7 separate regions of the Homo sapiens genome follow, and regions 1, 2, 4, 5, 6 and 7 are each linked to region 3. Evidence: promoter capture Hi-C in 16 types of primary human blood cells and fetal thymus (Javierre and others, 2016). All regions are on one chromosome and are shown on one strand. Each heading gives the region's core, a stretch centred on a gene start or on the middle of the fragment in contact. The rest is flanking DNA. Distances are from core to core; before and after follow the strand shown. Region 1 holds the start of ATRX (ATRX chromatin remodeler). Region 2 holds the start of COX7B (cytochrome c oxidase subunit 7B). Region 3 holds the start of RLIM (ring finger protein, LIM domain interacting). Region 4 has its middle 6.3 kb from the start of PGK1. Region 5 holds the start of EDA (ectodysplasin A). Region 6 holds the start of IGBP1 (immunoglobulin binding protein 1). Region 7 overlaps ATP7A (ATPase copper transporting alpha).

Region 1 (2,700 bases), core at 165-2,664, 3.2 Mb before region 3:
CTGAGGCCAGGCGCGGTGGCTCACCCCTGTAACTCCAGCACTTTGGGAGGTCGAGGTTGGAGGATGGCTTGAGCTTAGATGTTTGAGACCAGCCTGGGCAACAGACAGACCTACCTCATCTATACCAATACATAAATACATAATTAGCTGGGCTTGATGGCACGCGCCTGCAGTCCCAGCTGCTTGAGAGGCTGAGGTGGGAGGATTGCTTGAGCCTAGGAGGTCGAGGCTGCAGTGAACTGCGTCACGCCACTGCACTCCAGCCTGGGTGACAGAGCTAGACCCTGTCTCAGAAAAAAAAAAAAAAAAAGTTGCCTGAGCCTATCAGATTTTCAAAGTGTTTCATTCAAAAAAGGCTCCCCTCTTGCTATCCCAGTAGAAAGCAGCAACCCTGTCACCTAACCCCGACAGGAGCTCTTGCATATTTCAAGAAAAATAAATAGAATGAACTAAAGCATGCATGGCAGAATAAATTTGGAAATAAATTTCGAAGCGATTAGATTTTAGAGGACTTGTTTGTGATTAGCAGAGATTACCAATGTAAAATCAAATTATAGATCATAAAAGCGGGAAAGGCATTTACAGATCATCCAGCCAAGCTTCCTCTGTAATGAGAAGGAAGCAGATCTAAATTGATTGGTTTGTGAGCTAAACATCACATCAAATTGGGGAAATGGCCCGTGTGTGTGTGTGTGTGTGTGTGTGTGTGTGTGTGTGTGTGTGTATTCTAAGAGACACTTTATTCAATATGGAAAGAATTTTATGCAGCGTTCAAGTTGGTCTTATGTCGTCTGCACACATATACATATATATAAGTATATTATACACATATACATTTCCAAGCATGTTGGTGTGCCAAATATTATGTATAAAACATCTAGGAAAGCAAATAACTTGATGATAGCCTAGCATATAGGAAAGAAAATACTTACATAGGATGGCCATACAGATTAGTGGTTAAGAGTGTCTGGTGAATCTCGGCTCCACTACTGTGGGACTTTGTGTCTTGGTTTCCTCATCTGGAAAATGTAGGTTTGTCTACCTCAGAGAGTGTAAAGATTAAATGAGATAACCCGGATAAAGGATTAGTGTAGTGCCGAGCATATAGTAAACTCTCAATAAATGTAGGTTGCTGTTATTACTTCGTTAATATGTCAAAGAAAAAAGAGGTTGGACCAAAAGAGCATTTTCAAAATAAAGTCAAACTATGTCACTAGCACTTTCAGGTCAATTGGGACTAAATTGGACCCCCTGCGAAAAGGTGGAGGGGATCAAATGACGTCGACCGCCTTAGCAACAGGCCCCCAAAGAAGGTGAATTTCCGTAGCCAATAAGACTCTGTGCTTTGGAGGAGGTAGCCAATGGCTGACGGAAAGAGAAAGAGGGAGGACGCGCCAATTCTCCTGCCTGAGCCTCGGCCCAACAAAATGGCGGCGGCAGCGGTGTCGCTTTGTTTCCGCGGCTCCTGCGGCGGTGGCAGTGGTAGCGGCCTTTGAGCTGTGGGGAGGTTCCAGCAGCAGCTACAGTGACGACTAAGACTCCAGTGCATTTCTATCGTAACCGGGCGCGGGGGAGCGCAGATCGGCGCCCAGCAATCACAGAAGCCGACAAGGCGTTCAAGCGAAAACATGACCGCTGAGCCCATGAGGTAAAACGCAACCCCGTCTCATGGGCCCCAGCGGTCTGGGCCCAGGCACCGTCTGAGTCGGGTGTTTGGGAAGGCGTTCGCTTGGTGGGTTAGGCCTGTGTGTTGCTTAGCCGAAAGAGGCATCGTTTTCTCTTTAGGTGAGAAGGGTTTCGGGGTATCGGCGCAAGGCTCCGACGGGGGTGGGGGTGGGGATGGGGTGGGGGGAGGTGGGGGGGGCGCGGCCTAGGGTATGGGGCGCTTCTTGCAATCTCCCCTAAACGGTGACGCTTGGTCGGGCTCCTCTGTTTATTCTTTGGTGCCTGTGGGATTGAGACCTCGAAGTCGGAGGCGGTCTTTGGTATCCCGGTCATTTTTGCTAATCTTTGGGCCTAGAAACTGCGTGGGGAAGAAGCGGGGGGAGGGTGAGAAGAGGGGGAGGGGTGGGCGGGCGCGAGGATGTGAGATCCCAGGACGACTTAGAGGCGTTTAGGTTGCTGGAGATGGGAAGCACCCGGGCCCTGCGGGATTTTTTTTCTGCAGCCCCAGGAGACAAGCCTTTTTTTGATTGGGTTGTGGTGCAGTTCCAGGTATTTAGGTATCTTTTCTACTCCATATCCTGAAGGATATCCTTGGGTTTATTTCTAGGCGAGGGGGGACTTAACACAGGGTTTTGCTTCCAGAGGACCCTAGTATACTACTTTTTGTGATGTCCAGCCTTAATGGGACCTCAAGTGTTTCCCCACTTTCTGGGCAAATTTCGAGGAGTAATTAGGCCCTATCTTTATTTACTTATTTATTCCATGAAGGATGAAGGGCAGGTTAACGTGGGCTGATGCGAAGTAAGATTTATTGCAAGGGAAAATGCCTGGCAGGCCTCCTCTTAACCAATCAAGCACGTTTATTAGGTTGAAGCTGTTTTTCTGTGTGCTTCTGATTTGCCTCTTGACGGGTCTGAAAATTTGGGTAGTCAATATGAAATGTATACACTTTTACCCAGGTGGCTGGCTGGCGTTTCAGTTTGACATTTGAATTTTCATCCCACAATGTGAATTAAGTAATTTTTTTACTCGGAG
Region 2 (2,700 bases), core at 1-2,500, 3.3 Mb before region 3:
ATCGTGAAGGTGAAGCTAGAACTGCGGCAATACAGCTGCTGCTTTGGTGCCAATTCGCTTCAGGTACCCTTGAAGTGAGCTGAAAAACAAAATGGCTTTCAGCCGGGATCCGTAATGAGATTTGACGAAATCTCGCGATACCTGTAAAACCTATAGTAATTGCAATCCCTTTTCCCGCGAGGAAAAATAAAGGCCTTTTGGGAAATGTAGTTTCCGGCTTTATAAAATGACGTATGGTGGGTGGTATCTAATGAAGAATGAAAGAACTCCTTGAAGCCAGGTTTAGAGCTCTATAGAGGGCAGCCGAGAGACAGATCTTCGACCGAATCGTCTAAGGAACTAGCTTCAAAATGGCGTTCAAGTTCCACAAGCTTCGGTTTAGTATCTCCACACTAGCTCTTTCTTCTTTCTGTTCCCCCAAAACTTCCTTTACTTCTCTCATTTTTTTTGTCTGCTATTACTACTATACTAATTGGCTTAGCTTTTAGTTTTCAAATAACGTCAAGTTTAGAGAAAAGTTGCAAGAACAGTAAAAACTTCTGTAATATGTAGATAAATACGTGATAAAATAACTTTGGAAAGCTATTGGCCGGGCGCGGTGGCTCACGCCTGTAATCCCAGCACTTTGAGAGGCCAAGGTGGGCGGATCACGAGGTCGGAGTTCGAGACCAGCCTGGCCAAGATGGTGAAACCCCGTCTCTACTAAAAATACAAAAATTAGCCGGCGTGGTGGCGCGCGCCTGTCATCCCAGCTACTCAGGAGGCTGAGGCAGAATAATCACTTGAACCCGGGAGGCGGAGGTTGCAGTGAGCCGAGAACGTGCCACTGGACTCCAGCCTGGGCGACAGAGCGAGACTACGTCTCAAAAAGAAAGAAAGAAAAGAAAGCTGTTAGGCCTGGCGCGGTGGCTCACGCCTGTAATCCCAGCACTTTGGGAGGCCGAGGTGGGCGGATCACGAGGTCAGGAGATCGAGACCATCCTGGCCAACATGGTGAAACCCCATCTCTACTAAAAATACCAACAATTAGCTGGGCGTGGTGGCATGTGCCTGTAATCCCAGCTACTCTGTAGACTGAGGCGGCAGAATCGCTTGAACCAGGGAGTCGGAGGTTGCAGTGAGCCAAGATACCACCACTGCACTCCAGCCTGGTGACAGAGCAAGACTCCGTCTCAAAAAAAAAAAAGAAAAGAAAAGAAAAGAAAAAAAAGAAAGAAAAGAAATGGCAACACGGCAAAACCCCGTCTCTACTAATATACAAAAAATTAGCTGGGCATGGTGGCACATGCTTCTAATCCCAGCTACTCGGGAGGCTGAGGCATGAGACTTGCTTGAACCGGGGAGGCGGAGGTTACAGTGAGCCAAGATCGCACCACTGCACTCTAGCCTGAGACCTGTCCCAAAACAAAAAAAATAAAATACATACAGTTCAGTGGCATTAATGGCATTCACATTGTTGTGCAACTATCACCATTATTCATCTCTAAGACTTTTTCATCGTGTAAAACTAAATGCTTTGATTATACATTTTGACTATTGAAAATATTAACATTATTCCAAAAGTCAAAACTAAACAGACTAGTGTACTTAGAGAAGTGTCATTCCCTCCCCTAACTGTTGCATTCCATTTCCACCAATTCCTATAGGTAACCGATTTCATTACTTTCTGGTTTATCTTGTGTGTTTCCTTTTGCAAAAATAGGCAAATACCTGTATGTTTTCTTATTTCTCTATTTTATACAAATGTAGCATAAAAATCCATTATCATTTTACATAAGTCTTCCTCATTCCTTTTTTACAGCTGCAAAATCTGTGGTGTATATGTGCTATAGTATATTCAGTCAATCTCCTATGTTGGAATATTTAGGTAGTTTCAAGAATATTTCAATTTCAATAATGCTGAAATGAATAACTTTGTGCACACATATTTTCATATTGCTGGATGTCTCTCTCCAAGGTAGGTTACTAGAAGTGGGATTGCTGGATTAAAGGATAAATATATGTGTAGTTTTTTTAGATATTGCCAAATTATAGATGTTGTAACGTTTTGCCTTCCCACCAGCAACGTATTAATATAAAGGGTGCCTGACTCCCCACAGCCTTGCTAATAGCATGTAGTGTCAAGCTTTTGGATTTTTGCCAATATGATAGGTAAGATATCCCTTTTAAACTTTAAAATTTTTATTTTTAAAACATACACATAGTAAAATTCACTTTTTGGTGTACAGTTCTATGCGTTTTGACAAATGCATACAATTGTGTCACCACCACCACAATTAAGGACAGAATAGCTCTAGCATCATAAAAACACCCTTGTTTGACCTCTTTGTGATCAACCCTTTTCCCTACCCCTAGCCCCTGGCAGCCACTAATCTGTTCTCTGTACCAATGAGTTTGCCTTTTCCAGAATGTCATATATAGATTGAATCATACAGTATGTCTCAGTGTACTTTTATTTTGCATTTTTTCTTTTTTCTTTCCTTTTTTTTTTTTTTTGAGATTGAGTTTCGCTCTTGTTGCCCAGGCTGGAGTGTGATAACACGATTTCAGCTCACTGCAAACTCCGCCTCCAGGGTTGAAGCGATTCTTCTGCCTCAGACTCCCATGTAGCTGGGATTACAGGCCTGCGCCACCACACCGGGCTAATTTTTAAATTTTTAGTAGAGACGGGGGTTTTGCCATGTTGGTCAGGCTGGTCTT
Region 3 (2,700 bases), core at 20-2,519:
AAGAAGTTAGCTTTGTTGGAAAAACCGTAACAAAGCCAGCATAGCTGGCATGCTATTGGAAAACAGAAAAATTGGGAAAAGGAAAAGAATCTAAAAACTTGGGTAAGGTTTTCCTTTAACTGTGACAATGGGAGTGGCATGCTGTGTGGCGAGTTCCCTCAATTCTTTCAGGCATTACTACCTAAGAAAGGCCTTCTTTAACTGCCCTTTTACAAATCCCAACGTTATCAGATTTTCCCACCCTTTTACAATCACCGCCCTTTTTCGAATACTTTAGAGTTAATGCCTCAAAGTTATCAGTCTTTTAAACATCACGAATCCGTTTGTCCCTACAAGGAACTCTTCTGTCCCCCTTCCTTGATTTTTCTCCTTGGCATTTATCACTAACATGATATGTATTTATGTTTGATTTTTTCTAAATTATTGTCCCTGGCCCCTATAAAGACTCAAGAGAACTGGGATTTTGATCTGTTTTCTTTTTTTTTTTTTTTTTTTTTTTGAGACACAGCCTTGCTCTGTCACCCAGGCTAGAGTGCAGTGGCGAGATCCCGGCTCACTGCAATCTTCGCCTCCTGGGTTCAGCTATTCTCCTGCCTCAGCCTCCCGATTAGCAGAGATTACAGGCGCCCGCCACCACGCCCGGCTAATTTTCGTATTTTTAGTAGAGACTGGGTTTCACCATGTTGGCCAGGCTGGTCTCGAACTCCTGACCTCAGGTGATCCGCCCGCTTCGGCTTCCCAAAGTGCTGGGATTACAGGCGTGAGCCACCGAACGTGGCCTGTTTTCTTTCTTAATTTTGGTCTATTTTAATTTCCTAAGCAGCTACAATGGTGCTTGACATGCAGTTGGCACTGTGTAAATACATGTTGAATAAAACGCAGGCTACTTTTTGAACTGGTCTGCACGGATTGTGTGAACTGATGTGATGTCAGGGTAGACTAATATCACATTTCTCTCTCTCTGAAAATGTCTTCAAGCAGTCAGACCGTGACGTCCTTCAGTTTTCAAAATGGGAAAGCGAAGGTTCCCACAATTCTCAGAACGCAAATTTCTCGCCACAATTCAAAATGGCGGAGGAGGGTGGGGCCTGTCACATGGTGGGCGTCATAACAGCTTTCCTTTTCCAAACCGCCGCCCGCCTTGCCGCGTCGTCTGCCGTCCCCCTCCTCCTCCCGCGGAGCCTTTTCGAGGAATCGACTGGGATTGGCTAATAGGCTGGGAGTGGGGCTGCGGTGCCGGGACGCGGCATCATCACTTCCTGTTGTGGGCAGTCGTTTCCTGTCGCTGCTTGGTAACAATGGGGAAGATAATGGCTGCCTGAGCAACGTCTCCGAGCAGGCGCTGGGCTAGAGGCGGGTCTCAACCAGCTACTCATTGGAGGCGGGCTTGAGAGCGGCGGCCAGGGAGGTGCGGAGCAGCCTCGGCGGCGGCGGCCGAACCAACCGAGTCGGATCCTGACCCTAAAACCTAGTAAGTGAAGACTTGGGAATCCTGTGAGAAATGATGTAGAGCGAGAGGAAGACAGCGGAGCCGCGGCTGCCGCGTTCTCTCAAAATGGCCCGAGTGACGCGTCGTGGCAGAGGCTCAGCGCCGCCTCCGGACCCCAGGCCCGTTGCTGCGGGGGGCTCCGTGGCGTAGTCGCCGCTGCCATTTTAGTTGAGTGGTATAGTCGACAGGCTCTTTGAAGGGGAAGGAGGTGGGTAGTACTTCCTCTCGGTGGCCGCGCGAGCTGCAGCCCAGGCCCTCCGGAGCCTTAGGAAATCGGGGGAGGCAGTTTTTGAGTTTTGGCCTCAGGCGTCAGAATCTTAGAACGTCTCAGGCTTTTTCTTCTCTGTTCTCTGGAGGCTTCCCTGACCTCCCCGCGTTTTCCATGGCGGGCTTGGGTTTGGGAAAAGGGAAGTAAAAAATCAGGCTGCCCCAAGTGAGATGCTGGCAACTCTTGGGCCTTTAGATTTCCAAAACCTCATTTTGAGCCCTTCTGCAGGGTATTACCAATTAGGCGCCCCCTGGGGCCGCGATGACATCTTCCCTGAGGATCTGAGGCAAATGTGGTTTACTCCCTTGCTCGAATAACCCTGGCATATCCTTTGCCAGGTATCACTGGAAGGATCCCCCCGCAAAAGAGAGGGAAAAGCCGTTAGGTGTTTGTTGTGTTCTCCTGGATAAGGGATGGAATTGGGCCAAATTTTCAAGTTAATTTGTGTTTAATCCACCAACAACTCAATCCCTCCCCCATTAAAAAAAAAAAAAAAAGCCTAGGGGGGTCTCTGCTTCTGCAGACGGTACCTGCCACGCATGCCATAGCTTAGTAACTAGTATTAACCGGTTGGGCTTCTGCTTCCTGAATACTCGGTCCCTTTTTCCCTTATGCTGATTAATTTCAAGATGGAGGAGACAGCCACGTTCCTTCCCTAGACAGTTTCACCATACTTATTCCACAGGTTAGTCTGGGAATCTGAGGCCTAGCAGTCTTGTTATTGAGGTCATTTTTTTTTTCATTTTGGGGCAAGAGGAAGCAGTTGTATCAGATTGTCATCTTCCATTTGCAAGACCCCACAATGATTTTTTGCCAGAAGTAAGGAGCCCGCATTTCCTGAATCAGAATTAACCGCAGTGTTTTGGACTGATTGAAAGGGGGAAGAAATAATAAACCTACTGCTACTAATCATTTCTTTCATTCTTCGTGATTATAGACAGAG
Region 4 (2,700 bases), core at 131-2,630, 3.5 Mb before region 3:
TAATAGATTTACCCTTTGAGCCAGCAGTTCCATTTCTGTGAATCTAATGTAAGGATAGATCTCTGGACTTTATGTATTTCTGTATGTACATTTTCTCATTTGTCATAGCAAAGGACAGGAAAAATCCCAAGTGTCTGTCAATAAAGGACTAGTTAAACTATGGTACATGAATACAATAGAATACTGTACTATATGAAGCTTAAGAATGAGGGAGCTCATTCCATATCAAGGCTGCAGTAAGCTGTGATGGCGCCACTACACTCTGGTTTGGGTGGCAGAGAGAAACCCTGTCTCCTGTCTCTACAAATATATATATATATATATTTGTATGTATATGGCTTCTTGGCTTGTGTTTGCATAATGAAACACTGGCAGGACACAGTGGCTCACGACTGTATCCCAGCCCTTTAGGAGGCCAAAGCCGGATAATCGCTGGAGGCAAGGAGTTCGAGACCACCCTGGGCAACATACCAAGACCCCTGTCTCTACAAAAAAAAAGAAGAAGAAACACTGAAAGGATATATAAGAAATGAATAACATTGTTATTTATGGGAGTAGGAAGTGTAAGTTAGATGGGGACAGGAGTAGGTATGGGGGTTCTAAATGTAAATCTTGTTAGTTTATTTTTTGAACCATGTTAATGTATTACTTATTCAAAATAAGTAACTTAAAAAGAAATCGGGGTTAGACAAACAAGATCATCCATAAGCTACATTAGGAAAGCCCAAGATTTTCTGAGAGGCCAAAGCTATCAGTAGTCGCTGCTACTTAAACAACTCACTGAATACCACTGTGCCCCCAGTGAACCTACAGAAAAGGAAATCAAGAAAAATGGCATGTCTTTGGGCTGTAAACTGGCTAGAGAATCCAGATACCATGAAACAACAGTAGAAATTCATACAGAAGTTGATGGGTTTAGCATTCTCTATGGTGGTAGATGAGACTTCTTTCTGTCCCTTTTCTTGTCATCAAGTATGGTTTCATGTGCAGTCACTTTAGACCACATAGTAAAATGGCAGAGATCATCAACAATGAGATCACAAAATGCAATGAGCTTTTGTTGAATCACTTAGCCTCTGGGACATGTGCAAAGACAGCTAGATGTGTAGAGAGAATTCATAATGATGGCTAAGTAGCTGCCTTGCTCAGATTTTCTGCACTGAACTACCAAGGATACAAATGTTACCCTTTAAGGCAATGATTGAGTAAAAGGTTGGAATGCTCTGGCTAAATAGTGAATTGGGGAGTTATCATATTAGGTAGTTACCACCCAGTAATACCTTATTATGCATTAACTAGTTAACTAGAGTTCTGAAATGTGAACAATAAGTTATTAGGTTTTCATGCTGAAATAAAGGCTAAAAGGAATAGTGCAATGAATAGTATCAGAAGAGGGCAGGCTTGGGAGAGTAACAGTAATGGGGGTTTAGGGAAGGGGATGAAGCATGAGAGTCTGGGAAATGACAAGGTACAGACCTGGTCATGGAGGAGCCATTACAAAAACAGCCTAGTTCCATGTAGCTTGCCACACAGATGTCCAAGCGCCACCTAGGTTTAGTGTTTTGTTTATTTATTTGTTTTGTTTGTTTTTGTTTTGAGACGGTGTTTTGCTCTTGTTGCCTAGGCTGGAGTGCAATGGCACGATCTTGGCTCACTGCAACCTCCGCCTCCCGGGTTCAAACGATTCTCCTGCCTCAGCCTCCCAAGCAGCTGGGATTACAGGCACCTGCCACCATGCCCAGCTAATTTTTGTATTTTTAGTAGAGACAGGGTATCACCATGTTGGACAGGCTGGTCTCGAACTCCTGACCTCGTGATCCACCCGCCTCAGCCTCCCAAAGTGCTGAGCCACCGCTCAGCCACCGCTCCCGGCCTCACCTAGGTTTATTAAATCATATGTCCTGTGAAATTCCAAATGGAACAACAATGTAATGCACTTAAAGGGAAGTTATAAAACTTCTTAAGTACCCCCAGGTGAATCTAATGCACAATAAGCCTCGCAAACTGCAACTTTCTGGTATCTACTGGCCATGACAGTTATATTTCTCACTGCAAATAAATTTATTTTTTCTGTCAGGCAGTTTCTCGAGGGATCAACCCTGGACATGCCTAATTCCCCAATGAGAGTGGGGTAGCCAAATAGCTCATGATCGAAGACTGGAATTAACACAAATGAAAACAGAGAGGGCAAAATAAACATTTTAAGAACAGTTTAAAGTAAGGCAAGTTTGCACAGACACTGGCCTAATCATAAGATGAAGGAATTGAAACTGGCTTTGCAAAAATTATATCAGTGTGTAATAGAGCAGCTTAGCTTCAAACCATGTTTTAAAACTTTTTTTTTCTTTTCTTCTTTCCCCCCAGTCTCAAGACATAGCTTTGACATAAACTACAGAAGTGTTTTCTTTTTCCTTGAAATACAGCCTGGGGATGTGCTTTAAAATTCCACTTCCTCCCCTTTCCCACCTTATGCTCCCATGCCTTATGCATATTTATTTACCTGGATGCTTGTTAAGTTCACACTGGCTCACTTACCTGGTCATATATTTCCTTAGAAGCTTCAAGGACTGAATCCTGACAGGAAACAGGCACCTCCAGGATTCTCTCCCCAGCAGAAGATTACTTCAAGACCGGAGTTCCCTCTGGACTGACTGCAAGATTGAATGTGATTGATTTGTAACCTGTCAGGTCCACAATGGT
Region 5 (2,700 bases), core at 63-2,562, 5.0 Mb after region 3:
CCCTTCCCACCGCACACCTACCCCGCTTAAGAATCAGAACCGGCATGCAAAGGGTGAGTTTTATTTCCATAGATTTTTAAAATTGCTGTTCAGAAGTTGTCTAGCAAGACGGCATATTTCTACCAGAATTCCTCAGGGGCGCTGATCCTCACTAGAACGCCGAGGACAATCAGTCTCAAATTGCAGGTAAGTGTGAACAAGCCCACGTTCTGGTCAGCGCACAAGGACCCGCGCTGAAAATGCGGTTAAAAGTTGTTTCAACGGGCGGGCGTGGAACAGTTATTACAGCTGTTTACAGCTCCAACTCCAAAGGGGAGCCTGCTGGTTCTGGCATCAGCTCTAGACACGAAAAAACAAGCACCGCGGGCAGAGAACCTCATCACGAGCAGAAGGGCCAAGCCGTTAGTCGGCCGGGGGGCAGCGCAGGCACCTCCTCGACGGGAGCGTCGCCAACTTTTCTCGAGGCAGCCCGCAGCCAGGGGCCGCGGGCGCGCGCGAGACTTTCCAAGTCAAGGGGTCCCCAGGGAGTCTGGATTAGCTGGGCCAGGGACCGAAGACAACCTGCCCTGGGCAACTTCTCCCTTGCTCGCCTGGTCCCTCCCTGGTCCTGCCCTCTAAATTGGCTCGAGGTTGCTGAGTGCTCCCAGGCCCCTGTGGCGGAGGGCCCTCGCCCTACCCGCGAGGGGAGGGGGCCGCCGCCGCCCCTACTAGGTGACTCACCTGGTGCCCGTCCTGGGAGTCAGAGTGGAGTGCGGCTTCTCCCGGTTCCAATGGCTGCTGCTTAGGTGACGGCTGCCCAAGGTGACTGGTGATGGGGCTGTCAGGGTCGAGGCCACCGAGGCTGCTTAGGGTGCCAGAGGTGCCAGGGGTGCCCGAGCCGCCAAGGCGGGACTCGGCTCCACGTTCCCGCCGCAACTCCGAGCGCAACTCTAGGTAGCAGCACAACGTCAGCAGGTGGAGGGCCAGCGAGAGGCCAAAGAAACCCAGGAAGAGCAGGCAGCTGTTCCCTTCGCCCGCCCGGGCAGGGGCCCCGCCACACCCGCAGCCCTGGCTCCCTCGCTCCCGCGGCGCTGCTGCAGGCAGGAGTTCCCTGCGCTCCACCTCCGGGTAGCCCATGGCCTCCGGAGACACCCACTCTCTTGAGGCCCGGGAGCCGCTGCGTCTGCCTCAGCCGTTCACGACCTCTGACAGGCGGCTACTGTCCTGCCATCGGCTGGGGGCTGCAGGGACCCGTTCCTGCGCGACAGTGGCTGGGCGGGACGGAGCAGGGAGCAGCCGCATGTGCAGCTCTACTCCGAGGGGTGGGAAAGGGAGGAGGAGGGGCGGGAGAGAGGGGAGGCTCGGCCCGCCGAGGGAATGAAGGAGGAGGTCCCGGCCGACCCCGCCCCATCCCTCAAGCGGCTGCCGGGACGCCCAACCACGGGGCCGCCAAGCCTTGGCGCCCCGCCCCGTGCCGTTCCAGCCGGGCCTCCAGCCGCGGGGCGGGGCCTGGGGGCGTGAGGGTTCGCCTCTGCCTGGCCGCCCCACCCAGCTCTTCCCGCTTGCCCCGTACCAGTTGGTGACTGGCGCTGTCGTTCATCCCTGGGCTCCGCCCCAGTTTAACCCTATAGCGCCAGTACGGGGAGGAAAGGAGGGGGAGGCTAAGAATTTGGGAACCTTGGAAAGAAAGTAGAGCAAAGAAAAGGAGGCAGAAACTAGCATTAATAGAAATGTTTGCAATTAACTGCAGTTGTTAATAACATCATCCAGTACTTATCTGTTGCTTCCAATCTTCAAAGCGTTTAACAGACGTTAAACTAATTAAAACAGCTCTGGGTTTGGAATGAAACCATGCCTGCTGTGTTTGCAATTCAATGGCTCGCCCGAAGAAAAGGAGACCCAGGAGCCTGGGAACTATGGGAATGGGTGGGACTCAAGCAGCCTCACTCCTGGAGTGACTCTGAAGGCTCAATCTAAGTAACAGAGAAGCCGCCCCATGCCAAGCGGAACTGAAATGATGTTGTCCCTTGAAGGGTAAAACAGTCTCCTAGGATTTCTTGATATATTAATTAATTCAACAAATATCTATCGATCCCTGTACAATGCAAAAAATGCTGTATGAGAGCATCCACAGCCAGAATAGATTTCTTCCACTGCAGCAGTTTTGATTGGAGAACGTATGTCTTCAGTGAGTAGACAGGGAAACCGAGGGCCAGAATGAAGTGGATTTGTACAAGTGTGGTCCACAGAATGGCCAGACACTACTGGCATCTTTATTTACAGGCAACTGTTCTGGCCTCTCCACCCCTCCCATCCTTCTCCTGGAGTACTCCCTGGGGGAAGTTCAACAAGTCAGCCAAATGTTCCAGATGTACACTGCTGCAACTGCAGCATCTTCAACAGCTGCACCAATCAGAAACGGGTTCAGATAAAAAAAAAAAAGTGGCAAAAGGCAGAACAATAGACCCTGAAATGAAGGATGGAAAGGATTAAATCAAGAGTCACAATTGACAAGAGTTACTAGTCTGAGATTATAGAAAGCGAAATGACCATAGCAGGGGAACCATGTATGCTTCATAGTCACTACGCACTCTCATTCCGTGTTATTGAGTAATGAATAATTAACAATTTTATTGACTTGCAGCAGGCATCTTGAGTGTCATCATGGAGGCTCAGCAATGCCGGGGGCACTTATGTGTAGGCCTAAGACCTAGGCTGGTG
Region 6 (2,700 bases), core at 99-2,598, 4.5 Mb after region 3:
CTGAATTCGGAGCGCGAGGAGTGCGGACGAGCGAGTGCGTTTTAGGAGCCAGTCTGGCGCGCCCCTTACCTCGCGAGTAGCTCCCTAGGTTGAGGAGTCCAGGGACTCTAGCCGCCGCACCACTCCCACGGTTTGAAGATCCGGTCGCTTGAGCGCGAAGTGCAAGTAGCGCCCCCCTGCGGTTTCCGTCCACCCACCAGATGGAGCTCCGGGTTCCTCCCAGCCAATCCTCTCCCGTCCTCTTCCCCCTTCACCCCACACACGCCTACGACCCGTAGGCCGGCGTCCGGTGGAGCCCCCCTCAGCAAGATTGGCAACCTGCAACTCCGGTCACCGCACAGCCGGCTTCCCTTCGTGCACTTAGTTCCTACATCAAATGTTATTTCTGTGCAACCTTCCTTGTCTCTCTACCGCCTTCCACCCTGTGCCCTTCAGCCGCCAAGTCTGGGTTTCTCCTATGCATCTCTATCATGGCACCTACCACGCTGTATAATTGCTAGTGACTTACAAATCTCTCTTATCAGAATGAATTTGACTCATCTTTGCACCACTCTGGCTAGCCTGAGTACTCAGTATCAGTCATTATCTGAATAAAAAAAAAAAGTGATCAGTTTGGAAAGCAGCCAACTTATGCAGAACAGCATTGTTCAGTAGGTAGTTACTAGCTACATGTGGTTACTAAGCACTTGAAAGTGGCTATTTTGAATCGAGATGTGCTGCAAGTGTAAAAAACACCCCAGATTTCAAAGACATTTAAAAAAAAAAGAATGAAAAATGTAAATACTTTTTACATGGACTACATGTTGAAATGATAGTCTTTTGGATATGTTGGATTAAATATATTATTAGAATTAATTGTACTTCTTTCTTTTCACTTTGTAAATGTGCCTGCCAGATAATTTAAAACTATATTTGTAGCTCCCATTATATTTCTACTGGACAGAACTGATGGAAAACATAATTTCAGGACTTCAAAGAAGGGACGTCATTGTTTTGAACAAAGCAATATAAATACATACTGATTACCTTAGGACGCAGCCTGAATTGTCCTAGGAGATTTAAGTAGCAGGCACACTGTCTACCCCTGAAAATAAACTTTTAAACTAGTATTTTAAACTACATATCGTTGAGAAGAAAAAAAGCTTCATTAAAAAACAACTAGAGGGCAATATAGGACAGTATAAAATAGGTGATATGTTGTATTGCACAGGCTGTTGGAAAAGCAAGAAAGGGCAAGTCATCCCATGCTAGGAGTAGTTCAGAAGGCTTCTTAGACATGACATGCGGTCACATAGAAGAATGTCAAAGTTTAAAGGGAACCCCCAAAATCGGAGGAAAAACTTGAGACCAGAAAGGTTAAGGGACTTGTCCAGCCAGTTTGTGACAAAGTCAGTGACTTCTGCGTTCAATTGTTTCTACTCCATTAACCTTCAGTTGGGTAGGATTTAGAAAGATGAAGACCTTTAATGTGGGACAGATTGAAGCCCCAAACTAGAACAGTGCTTCCTAAGAGGGAGAGGAGGCTGTGGCACACATGTAGGTTGAAAAAGCTTCCCAGGTGATTCTAATAAACCTTCCCTTGCAACCCCTGCTTTATAAACTAAGAAGGAAGTGAGGCTTTGGCGAATTACCTATTTGGTTTATCTGGCACCTCTAGTAAACTGACCTTTCAGGGTCAGGCTTGGCAGGGAATATAAAGAAAAAGATAGTACTTGTGGAGGAGACTTAGAAATGTAGTAATTGTGAGAGTAAAGATAATTTGCTTCTCTGCATTTGCTTGGATTAAAACATGTCTTTACTGTTACTTAAGAGGAAAAAAATGTGCACAGTCTTAATTTGGTCTTAAACTTTGTAAGTCATTTTTTATGGCTTTCAAAATTAGTCTTTTTTTTTTTTTTTTTTTGAGACAGGGTCTCACTCTGCCACCCAGGCTGGAGTGCTGGAATGCATTGGCACGATCTTAGCTCACTGCAAACTCCGCCTCCTGGACTCAAGTGATCCTCTACCCTCAAGCCCCCCAATTAGCTGGGACTACAGGTGCAAGTCACCACTCCTGGCTAATTTTTGTATTTTTTTGTAGAGGCGGGGTTTCGCCATGTTGCCCAGGCTGATCTCAAACTCCTGAGGTCAAGTGATCCACCCGCTTCACCGTCCCAAAGTGTTGGGATTACAGACGTGATTCAGTGTGCCCAGCCAAAATGACGGTCTTTATGGGAGATGCCAATTACTTTCAGAGTGCCTGTTATATATTAGAGTTGTCATTTTAAGCATTGCATTTCATCTTATTCTGAAAGAATACCAAGATTAAAAAGTGGTTAGAAAAAAAGGAATAATGGCCGGGCGTGGTGGCTCATGCCTGTGATCCCAGCACTTTGGGAGGCCGAGGTGGGCAGCTCACCTGAGGTCAGGAGTTCAAGACCAGCCTGGCCAACATGGTGAAACCCTGTCTCTACTAAACATACAAAAATTAGCTGGGCATGGTGGCGCGGGCCTGTAACCCCAGCTACTCCGGAGGCTGAGGCAGTGAGCCGGGAGGCAGAGGCTGCAGCGAGCCGAGATCACACCACTGCACTCCAGCCTGGGCGACAGAGCGAGACTCTGTCTCACAAAAAAGAAAGAAAAAAAGGAATAATAAAAACGAGTCGTTTGCTGTGTTTTGTGTGTAAACACTTTATCATATTAAACTCCTGTTGTGCATGG
Region 7 (2,700 bases), core at 84-2,583, 3.3 Mb before region 3:
ATTACAGAAGCAGATTGTTATGAGTTTTCTTGATAGGGAAATAGGATGAGCACATCACAGTGATTTGATTTGCCAGCTGTAATAATGAGCTTTAAGATGCCATGTTAGCATATGTAGGTGTACTATAGGCTACTGGGGGACCCTCTCAATCTGAGTTTTCCATTTTCTTTCTCTTTTTTTTTCTTTTTTTTTTTTTTTTTGAGACAGGGTCTCACTCTGTCACCCAGGCTGGACTGCAGTGGCATGATCTCAGCTCATTGCAGCCTCAACCTCCCAGGCTCAAGCAATTCCCCCACTTTAGCCTCCCCAGTAGCTGGGACTATAGGCGCATGCCACCACACCTGGCTATTTTTTGTAATTTTTGTAGAGATGGGGTTTCACCTTGTTGCCCAGGCTGGTCTGGAACTCCTGAATTCAAGCAATCTACCCACCTCAGCCTCCCAAAGTGCTGAGATTACAGGCGTGAGCCACCGCACCGGCCAATTTTCTATGGTGTAAGTTAGAAATTAAGTATTGTGCCGGGCGTGGTGGCAGGGCCGGGAGCGGTAGCTCAAACCTGTAATCCCAGCACTTTGGGAGGCTGAAGCGGACAGATCACCTGAGGCCAGGAGTTTGAGACCAGGCTGGCCAACATGGCGAAACCCCATCTCTACTAAAAATAAATAAATTAGCCGGGTGTGGTGGCACACGCCTGTAACCCCATCTACTCGGGGGGCTGAGGCATGAGAATCGCTTGAACCCTGGAGGCAGAGGTTGCAGTGAGCCGAGATCGTGCCATTGCAACTCCAGCCTGGGCTACGGAGCAAGACCCTGTCTCCAAAAAAAATTTTTTTAAAGAATTTAAATATTGCTTGCAAGTATTGATTGATTAGTATATTGATCCTGTAGTCTACTAAATTTATAGTACAGCAAAACTGTAATTTATAATTTTATTATATAGGATGTTAAAATTACTTTTACAGTAAATAATATATTAAAATATTAAAGGTAACTACATTTTATTGTATGTTTACTATCTGCCAGACACCGTACATGTATTAGATCATTAACAATCCTGTGAGACAGGTACTGTTATTGTCCCCATTTTAGAAATTTGAAGGAACTGAGGCACAGAGGAGTATGAAATCTGCGCAGGGTCATACAAGTAGTAAGCAGAGGGGCTGGGATCCCACCTAGACAGTCTAGCACCTGGACTGAGCCAGACAAGACAGGCTTTTTTTTTTTTTCCGGACAAGACAGGGTCTCACTCTGTCACTCTCTCATCCAGGGTGGAGTGCAGTGGTGTGATCTCAGCTCACTGCAGCCTCAACCTTCCAGGCTCAAGCGATCCTTCCACCTCAGCCTCCTGAGTAGCTGGGACTACAGGCACGTGCCAACACACTCAGCTAATTTTTGTATTTTTTGTAGAGACAGGGTTTCCCTATGTTGCCCAGGCTGGTCTCGAACGCCTGGGCTCAAGCAATCCGCCTGCCACGGCCTCCCAAAGTGCTGGGATTACAGGCGTGAGCAACTGTGCCCCACCTAGCCTCCACTCTTAATCCTATATTATACTGTCTCTCCAAAACAATATATCGCAATACAATGGTGAAGTTAAGATACCTTGAAGCATCAAGAGAATAATATCTAATACTCCAGAAAATGTTCAAAGATATTACTGTCAAGATGAAAAAACAAACATAGACCATTTCACTCCAGCCTAGGTGACAGAGCCAGACTCCATCTCAAAAATAAATAAACAAAAATAAACATTAGGTGTTTTAGTATATCTAAATATACATTTAGTATATCTTTTCTTTCTAGGAGAATCTGAGAATACAATTAAGACACCATTTTTAACACTAGGTGTTTTAAGGCCTGGCACAGTGGCTCATGCCTGTAATCCCAGCACTTTGGGAGGCTGAGGAGGGTGGATCACTTGAGGTCAGTCAGGAGTTCGATACCAGCCTGACCAACATGGCAAAACCCCTTCTCTACCAAAAATACAAAAACTAACCAAGTGTGGTGGCGCGCACCTGTAATCCCCGCTACTTGGGAGACTGAAGCAAGAGAATCACTAGAACCCAGGAGGCGGAGGTTGCAGTGAGCCGAGATAGCACCACTGCACAGCACGATGCTGTCTCTACAAAAAGTTTAAAAATTAGCTGGGAGTGGTGGCACACACCTATAGTCCCAGCTACTCAGGAGGCTGAGGTAGGAGGATCGCTTGAGCCTGGGAGATCGAGACTGCAGTGAGTTATGATGGCGCCACTGCACTCCAGCCTGGGTGACAGAGCAAGACCCCATCTCTTAAAAATAATATTATTTAAAAAATAATAATTAATTAATAAATAAGTAGCTAGGCATGGTGGCATGCGCCTGTGGTTCCAGCTACTTGAGAGGCCAGAGGATCATTTGAGCCCAGGAGATTAAGGCTGCAGTGAGCTATGATTGTGCCATGGCACCCTAGCCTGGGCCACAGAGCGAGGCCCTGCCTCTAGAAATAAATACATAGATAAATAATAACAATAACATCTTTTAAAATAAAAATAAAATAAAATAAGGTTAATGGCCAGTCTAAAACAATATCCCTACAATGTGAAATAACCCATTTATTTCAACTGGTAAATTGTTAAAAATGCACTCCTGATTATAGGTCTGAAAAACTGGACTTCTACACTAGAGATTAATAGTAAAAATAAGTAAAACTCTTTTTTCATCCTT

The links. Contacts are between HindIII fragments. The CHiCAGO score rates a contact against its expected background, and 5 or more counts as called.
Region 1: the fragment with the promoter of ATRX here is called in contact with the fragment with the promoter of RLIM in region 3 in 1 of 17 cell types (neutrophils); the score reaches 6.5 in neutrophils.
Region 2: a contact is called between a fragment that was not itself captured here and the fragment with the promoter of RLIM in region 3, in 3 of 17 cell types (fetal thymus, monocytes and total CD4 T cells). The highest score is 13.4, in fetal thymus.
Region 4: a contact is called between a fragment that was not itself captured here and the fragment with the promoter of RLIM in region 3, in 1 of 17 cell types (neutrophils). The highest score is 7.4, in neutrophils.
Region 5: a contact is called between the fragment with the promoter of EDA here and the fragment with the promoter of RLIM in region 3, in 1 of 17 cell types (M1 macrophages). The highest score is 5.5, in M1 macrophages.
Region 6: a contact is called between a fragment that was not itself captured here and the fragment with the promoter of RLIM in region 3, in 1 of 17 cell types (total CD4 T cells). The highest score is 5.3, in total CD4 T cells.
Region 7: a contact is called between a fragment that was not itself captured here and the fragment with the promoter of RLIM in region 3, in 1 of 17 cell types (monocytes). The highest score is 10.1, in monocytes.

The regions. Positions count from the first base shown.
Region 1 is chrX:77,784,930-77,787,629 of GRCh38, reverse strand. ATRX (ATRX chromatin remodeler) reads left to right here and starts at 1,414. Exons shown (of 35, transcript NM_000489.6): 1 at 1,414-1,648. The coding sequence starts at 1,629. RefSeq lists enhancers at 1,341-1,530, 1,541-1,650 and a silencer at 1,751-1,800. The HindIII fragment of the contact is 7,766 bases long and covers 602-2,700 here.
Region 2 is chrX:77,896,856-77,899,555 of GRCh38, reverse strand. It overlaps COX7B (cytochrome c oxidase subunit 7B), which reads right to left and starts at 88. Exons shown (of 3, transcript NM_001866.3): 1 at 1-88. The coding sequence starts at 2. RefSeq lists an enhancer at 1-134. The HindIII fragment of the contact is 1,754 bases long and covers 374-2,127 here.
Region 3 is chrX:74,613,193-74,615,892 of GRCh38, reverse strand. It overlaps RLIM (ring finger protein, LIM domain interacting), which reads left to right and starts at 1,269. Exons shown (of 4, transcript NM_016120.4): 1 at 1,269-1,471. RefSeq lists an enhancer at 1,345-1,664. The HindIII fragment of the contact is 9,843 bases long and covers 1-2,700 here.
Region 4 is chrX:78,096,604-78,099,303 of GRCh38, reverse strand. No RefSeq gene overlaps it. Among named protein-coding and RNA genes, the nearest start is that of PGK1, 6.3 kb to the left of the region's middle. The HindIII fragment of the contact is 2,360 bases long and covers 201-2,560 here.
Region 5 is chrX:69,614,725-69,617,424 of GRCh38, reverse strand. It overlaps EDA (ectodysplasin A), which reads right to left and starts at 1,312. Exons shown (of 8, transcript NM_001399.5): 1 at 721-1,312. The coding sequence starts at 1,116. RefSeq lists a silencer at 1,365-1,484. The HindIII fragment of the contact is 7,678 bases long and covers 1-2,700 here.
Region 6 is chrX:70,130,910-70,133,609 of GRCh38, reverse strand. IGBP1 (immunoglobulin binding protein 1) reads right to left here and starts at 163. Exons shown (of 7, transcript NM_001551.3): 1 at 70-163. The HindIII fragment of the contact is 408 bases long and covers 1,145-1,552 here.
Region 7 is chrX:77,913,855-77,916,554 of GRCh38, reverse strand. The region is part of intron 1 of ATP7A (ATPase copper transporting alpha); the gene reads right to left. Among named protein-coding and RNA genes, the nearest start is that of ATP7A, 4.5 kb to the right of the region's middle. The HindIII fragment of the contact is 5,339 bases long and covers 1-2,700 here.